Linked DNA regions of Homo sapiens: region 2 is linked to region 1. Evidence: promoter capture Hi-C in 16 types of primary human blood cells and fetal thymus (Javierre and others, 2016). All regions are on one chromosome and are shown on one strand. Each heading gives the region's core, a stretch centred on a gene start or on the middle of the fragment in contact. The rest is flanking DNA. Distances are from core to core; before and after follow the strand shown. Region 1 holds the start of SELPLG (selectin P ligand). Region 2 has its middle 5.5 kb from the start of TCP11L2.

Region 1 (3,209 bases), core at 1-2,500:
CCTGAGGTCGAGAGTTCAAGACCAACCAGCCTGACAAACGTGGAGAAACCCCATCTCTACTATAAATACAAAATTAGCCGGGGTGGTGGCACATGCCTGTAATCCCAGATACTCGGGAGGCTGAGGCAGAAGAATAGCTTGAACCCGGGAGGCGGAGGTTGCGGTGAGCCGAGATTGTGCCATTGCACTCCAGCCTGGGCAAAAAGAGTGAAACTCCATCTCAAAAAAAAAAAAAAAAAACAACTTTGTGCAAGGCAAGATATGAGTATCTTTCTGTGCATGTCCTGAGCCCTTGCCTGGTGCAAAGCCGCAGGGCAGATCCTGGGAGACCCCCCTATTCCCTCCCTTCTGGAAGTGTCTGGGTATTCTTAGGCCTCCCAGCCTTTGCCTCTGCTGTGCTCTCTGCCTGGGATGCCCACCTGGCTTGTCATCTCAAGTGCCACTTCTTGGAAGCTCCTCCTGTTAACCTCCCTCCCCCACCCAGGATGGAAGGAGAGGCCCCTCCCTTGCTCACCGCAGGATGGCACTCACTGCGCTGTGTCATTGTGGCATGATGTTCCACCGAATTGTTTACTCGCTGGCCTCCCCATTGGATGGAGGGCTACCAGAGGGCCACAGCCCAGAATTGCTGGCCTTTAGACCTCAGGGCATGCAGTCTGGAGTGCCAGAGTTGGTCAAATGAACAAATTTAGGATGAAGAAATAAGATAAGCAGGACTTGCCCTTGTGGTATCTGTAGTCCAGCTCCCTAGAGAGGCTCTTGGTTGCAGCTGAAAGGGCCTGTGCTGTGCATCTACAGAGAGTGTTTTGAGTCCTGCGAGAAGAAATACACCATATTTGCAAACCCTTTGAAGGTTCATATTTTGTGTTTTTTGCTCCCTGACCACCTCCCACCCCTCCCCACGCCCCACCAATCTTGGGCAAGAAGCGAGACCATTCTCCTTTTTCTCTGGTCACTCCTGTCCTTCAGGGGGCTCCCTCTGGCCCCGACTGTCCATTGCTGCTGAAGTAATGCTGTGGCCTTTCTCAGTTTGGGCCCCACCCAAAACCGAAGAACTTCTCCCCAGAAAGCTTCTACTTGGTTCTCAGTGTTTTCACAGTTATGGGAACCCAAGAACAGTGTCAGACCTAGGAGGTGCCCCACTACCACCCTGTCTTTATCAATGTTGTCACCAAAGCTGTCACAAACAATGGGGTGTGGGCTGTCACATGGCCCTGCCTAAGTAACCACATTCTCGCTTCCTCCTTCCACACACAGCCATTGGGGGTTGCTCGGATCCGGGACTGCCGCAGGGGGTGCCACAGCAGTGCCTGGCAGCGTGGGCTGGGACCTTGTCACTAAAGCAGAGAAGCCACTTCTTCTGGGCCCACGAGGCAGCTGTCCCATGCTCTGCTGAGCACGGTGGTAAGTGCTGGCTTGCAAAACCACAGGGAGTGGCTGGAGGTCCCCATGGGCCAAGGGCCTGCCTTATAGCTGCTGGCAGGCCCGGGTAGGACCGCCAGGCCCTTCTTGAGCTGCAGCACCTGGGGAGGGCAAACTGAGGCTCCTCCGACTCAAGACTAAAGTCTTCCTGGAGTCTGTGGCCTTATTCTGTGACTCTTCTGAATCCTGCTCCTGCCAACTTTTTTTTTCCTTCTTTTTTTGAGACAGGGTCTTACTCTGTCACCCAGGCTGGAGTGCAGTGGCACAATCATGGCTCACTGCAGCCTTAAACTCCTGGGCACAAGTGATCCTCCCACCTCAGCCTCCTGAGTAGCTGGGACTACAGGCGCACATCGCCGCATGCAGCTAATATTTTTACCTTTCCTAGAGATGGGGTCTCACTTTGATGCCGAGGCTGGTCTCAAACTCCTGGCCTCAAGCCTCTTGCGTTGGCCTCCCAAAGTGCTGAAATTACAGGTGTGACCCACCAGCCCCAGCCTCCCATTAACTTACTTCCCTCCCTGGCCAGTTTGCCTGCAGCGTCTGGCTTGGCGGCATTCTGATTTTGAAAATCAGAGAAACCATGAGTGTTTCCCTAGAAATGATCTTATCCTCTCCTTTCCTGGATGGGAAACTGAGGTCGGGAGAGGTGAAGGGATTTGTTTAGGGGCAGAGCTGAGATTAGGTCTGGAAGACTCCAGAAAGTAGGGGGAGTGCAGGATTTCTCTTGAAGCTGCATGTTATGGACGCATAAAAAAGTTCTTTTCAGAGAAAGATGCATTCTTCCCACTTTTTATAAGACTGAGGAAATGACACTTGTCTGTGGCAAACTATTAAAATATTAGAATTAAGATACTATTGTTAGCAAAAGGGAAAACAATAATAATAATAATAATTAGAATATTTGGCTGGGTGCAGTGGCTTACACCTGTAATCCCAGCCCTTTGGGAGGCCGAGGCAGGTGGTTGGCCTGAGCTCAGGAGTTCTAGACCAACCTGGGCAACATGGTGAAACCTCGTCTCTACCAAAAATACAAAAACTTAGCTAGGTGTAGTGGTGTATGCCTGTGGTCTCAGCTACTTGGGAGGCTGAGGTGGGAGGATCACTTGAACCTGGGAGGGGGAGGTCGCAGTAAGCCGAGATTGTGCCACTGCACTCCAACCCGGGTGGCAGAGTGAGACCCTGTCTCAAAAAAAAAAAAATTAGAATACTCTTATTAGTTTGTATTTGAGATACTTTCAGGACACTAAAAGGAAATGGTGGGGGCCAGTTGTGCCCTGCTGTACACACATTCACACACACACACACACACACACACACACACACACACACCCCATATTGTCGATATCTGGGCTTCTGTTGCCTGGAATTCTCTTCCTCTTTCCTCTTTCTTCTGTTTTCCTTTTTTTTCCATCTCTGACTTTGAGGCCCCCAGAGCCAGGCCCCTCAGTGGGCCGGGGCCTCAGAAGGTGGCTCCCAGGCCCTCAGACAGCCCCAGAGTCTCTTCCGAGGCCGTGCCCTGGGTGGTTGATGCCTCCCTCAGCAGGCTTGGCCAGCAGCCAGGGGAGTTAAACCTCAGAGAGCGGAAGGGCTGGGTTGCTAGGCTGGGCCCAGAGTGGGGCATTCAGAGGAGCTGGGGAATCAATCATCCGAGAACCTTGGAGGGTGGACAGTGCCCCTTTTACAGATGAGAAAACTGAGGCTTGAAGGGGAGAAGCAGCTGCCTCTGGCGGCATGGCTTCTGGCTGCAGGATGCCCATGGAGTTCGTGGTGACCCTAGGCCTGTG
Region 2 (3,209 bases), core at 193-2,692, 2.3 Mb after region 1:
TATAATCCCAGCAGTTTGGGAGGCCGAGGCAGGTGGATAACTTGAGGTCAGGAGTTTGAGACCAGCCTGACCAACATGGCAAAACCTCATCTCTACTAAAAATACAAAAAATTAGTTGGGCGTGGTGGCACACACCTGTAATCCCAGCTACTTGGGAGGCTGAGGCAGGAGAATTGCTTGAACCTGGGGGGCGGAGGTTGCAGTGAGCTGAGATTTCACCACTGCACTCCAGCCTGGGCAACAGAGCGAGACTTTGTCTCAAAAAAAATTTTAAACTAAAAATTAAATTAAAAAAAATGTTTTTCAAAGGAATCCCACTTCTTTTCTCTCCCCTGTCCATCTTCAGGTGCTACAGAAAGGGCCAAAAATCAGTGAGGGGGAAAATACAATAGAAAGCAAAAAGAAGAAAATGAATTTGGCTAATACACCAACTAGAGAATTAGGCCCTGAATGTTCAAAAATTAACTGCATACCTCCTACTCAATTTTACTGTGAGCTCTAAAAATAAGGTCTATTAAAAAAAATTAACCACACCTTTTAGGCAATTTTTTTTTGTTCTATATCCTGTGATTTGGAAGATAAGGTAGATTTAGATAATTGACCAGTTTTGACTATTAATTGATGCTTGAACAATTTTCCAAAGCACCAAAACCAGTTTTCTTTTGACTCCACTGAACTGAATTAGTAAAAAAATTAACAGTTATTTCTCATTTCAATTGCCTGTACCTTCACATTTAGGCACTGCCCAGTCCCTGACCCTGTCACATACTAAAAAGACAAATATTCTTAGTGCTCCCTACACCCCACCCTGGGCCCCTTCCTCTTACCTGGGCACCACTGTTGTCCCCTGGGAAGCAGAAAGAGTGAGAACCAGCAGTGAAGACAACTTTGGGGCAGGAAGTGGGAGGGGCCAAAGAGAGTTGAAGCTCAAAGGAACACCTATGGGAGGCCAAACAGGTGATGGCTCAGACCTCTGACCAAGCCAGTCACTCTCTTTAGCTCATCTCCAGGCCAGCAGGCAATCAACCATTTTCTAAATGATTGCTTTTCTAAAGTGTTCATGGATGAACACAGGCCCTCAGTTTTAAAATCAAATGAAATTGTCAAATGGGCATGAGGAAGAGCTACTAAAATAAGATGCAATCTCCAGAAAACATAAAGGAAGGATTAAGAAATGTGACTTTTTAGGTACACGATTCAACATGAAAACATGAGTTACAGAACACTGATTATGGGGTGACACGATTTATGCTAGAGAGAGCTTACACTAGAGACAGTACATATGCATTGTGTGTATATGAAATACATAGAAATGGACTAAAAAGAATCTCAACCGTTTAGAAGGCTATTTAGGCAAGTTAGTTCCTGGTTTATTCCGTACACATTCAAGCAGCTTATTTCTTTTACAATGAGAATGTCATTCATATATTACTAGTCTATTTCACACTGCCATACAATGCAACTATTCTTATTATTGTATGTCCTCCTAAATATACCTTAGTGAAGATAGGCTATTGATACTGCACAATAAGCAAATTTCCCATCTCTTTTTTATTCATATTTAAGAAAGCCATGACAACAAATGGAGCTTTTCATGTAAAATATATGAAAGAATAGATTTACAAAAAGTCCCTCACTATGATATGTCAAAATTATTAATGCTGGGTGGGGGAATATTGATCTTTACTTTTTAAGTTCTTCTCCTCAAGCCCTATTCTTCGATAGCCAAAGTGCATGGAGTTTGCTTTCATTTTAAACATGTTTTTTGCCCCAAACTCTGACCTCTAAAACCTTCCCTTTCTTTGATGATAAACTGGACAAATGTCCTTTCTCAAAGTTATATGGGACTTTAATAATTATACTACCTTTTTTTTGTTGTTTCTTTTTTTTGAGACAGAGTCTCACTCTGTCAGCCAGATTGGAGTTCAGTGGCATGATCTCGGCTCACTGCAACCTCTGCCTCCCGAGCTCAGGCGATTCTTTTGCCTTAGCCTCCTGAGTAGCTGGAATCACAGATGTGTGCCATCACGCCTGGCTAATATTTTGTATTTTTAGTAGAGATGGGGTTTCACCATGTTGGCTAGGCTGGTCTCGAACTCCTGACCTCAAGTGATCCACCCCTTGGCCTCCCAAAGTGCTGGGATTACAGGCATCAGCCACCACACCCAGCCGTACATTTTGAAGACAAAAAAATTGAGAGCTCTGAACATTCAAATGCCTGAATAGTAGCTTTTACCTGAGTTCCTGGGCATTCTAGAGGAAGGTCATATACTAGGGCACTAAGGGTTTATGTTGACTAAAGGGATACTCAGCAGTGACTCACTCAGTTGGCAGGTCAAGAATAGAAACCAGAAGAACTCACTTCATGGCTTCTCTCCGCAAATACACACATATACACGTGCAGTGTCACATGCAAAGTATTACCTATTGGCATAATTATCTAATTTCCATAACAACATATCAACAAGCATACCAGCTCTGTACCAACTAAGTGCCCAAAGTATTTATAATCACATTCCATTACTCTAGAAGGGTGCCTGGACCAGATACTGGGGTGGCTGTGCCTTCTAGAAAGCAAGAATGGAATGCAGCTTTATACAAAAATATGAAGCTGTTTACATAGATATATATTCACCCGCACACATGCACACACGAAACATTTCTGGCCAATTCCCTCAGAGGGATCCCAAGCCATGCCATTGTTTATGTTACATGTACATCTGCATGTATATTATCAGTAAATTCCCACAAAGCTCAGTATAGGCTGGGCGCAGTGGCTCATTCCTGTAATCCCAGCATTTTGGGAGGCCGAGGTGGGCGGATCAACTGAGGTCAGGAGTTCAAGACCAGCCTGGTCAGCATGGTGAAACCCCGTCTCTATTAAAAATACAAAAAATTAGCTGGGCGTGGTGGCGCACTCCTGTAGTCCCAGCTATTTGGGAGGCTGAGGCAGGAGAATCACTTGAACCCAGGAGGCAGAGGCTGCAGTGAGCCAAGATCACGCCACTACACTTTTGCCTGGGTGGCAGAGTGAAACTCAGTCTAAAAAAAAAAAAATGCTCGGTGTAACATAATTATACAAATAAATTTAATTTTAATGCTGAAGCTGAATTCTTTATTTAAAGGAAGACCTCTGTGATGATATGTGGACGTTTAAAAAAATGACTTTTTAAAAGTTACAAGCATTACGTAGATCAAAATTTTCAAAG

The links. The method cuts DNA at HindIII sites, captures the fragments that hold promoters and counts their contacts. A CHiCAGO score of 5 or more calls a contact.
Region 2: a fragment that was not itself captured here is called in contact with the fragment with the promoter of SELPLG in region 1 in 1 of 17 cell types (non-activated CD4 T cells); the score reaches 6.4 in non-activated CD4 T cells.

Annotation. Positions count from the first base shown.
Region 1 is chr12:108,631,935-108,635,143 of GRCh38, reverse strand. It overlaps SELPLG (selectin P ligand), which reads left to right and starts at 1,250. Exons shown (of 2, transcript NM_003006.4): 1 at 1,250-1,404. LOC105369968 (a long non-coding RNA gene) reads right to left here. Exons shown (of 3, transcript XR_007063449.1): 2 at 1-813. RefSeq lists a silencer at 439-488 and enhancers at 1,729-1,778, 3,187-3,209. The HindIII fragment of the contact is 5,781 bases long and covers 1,073-3,209 here.
Region 2 is chr12:106,295,591-106,298,799 of GRCh38, reverse strand. It overlaps a transcript of TCP11L2 not described here. Among named protein-coding and RNA genes, the nearest start is that of TCP11L2, 5.5 kb to the left of the region's middle. The HindIII fragment of the contact is 4,525 bases long and covers 1-3,209 here.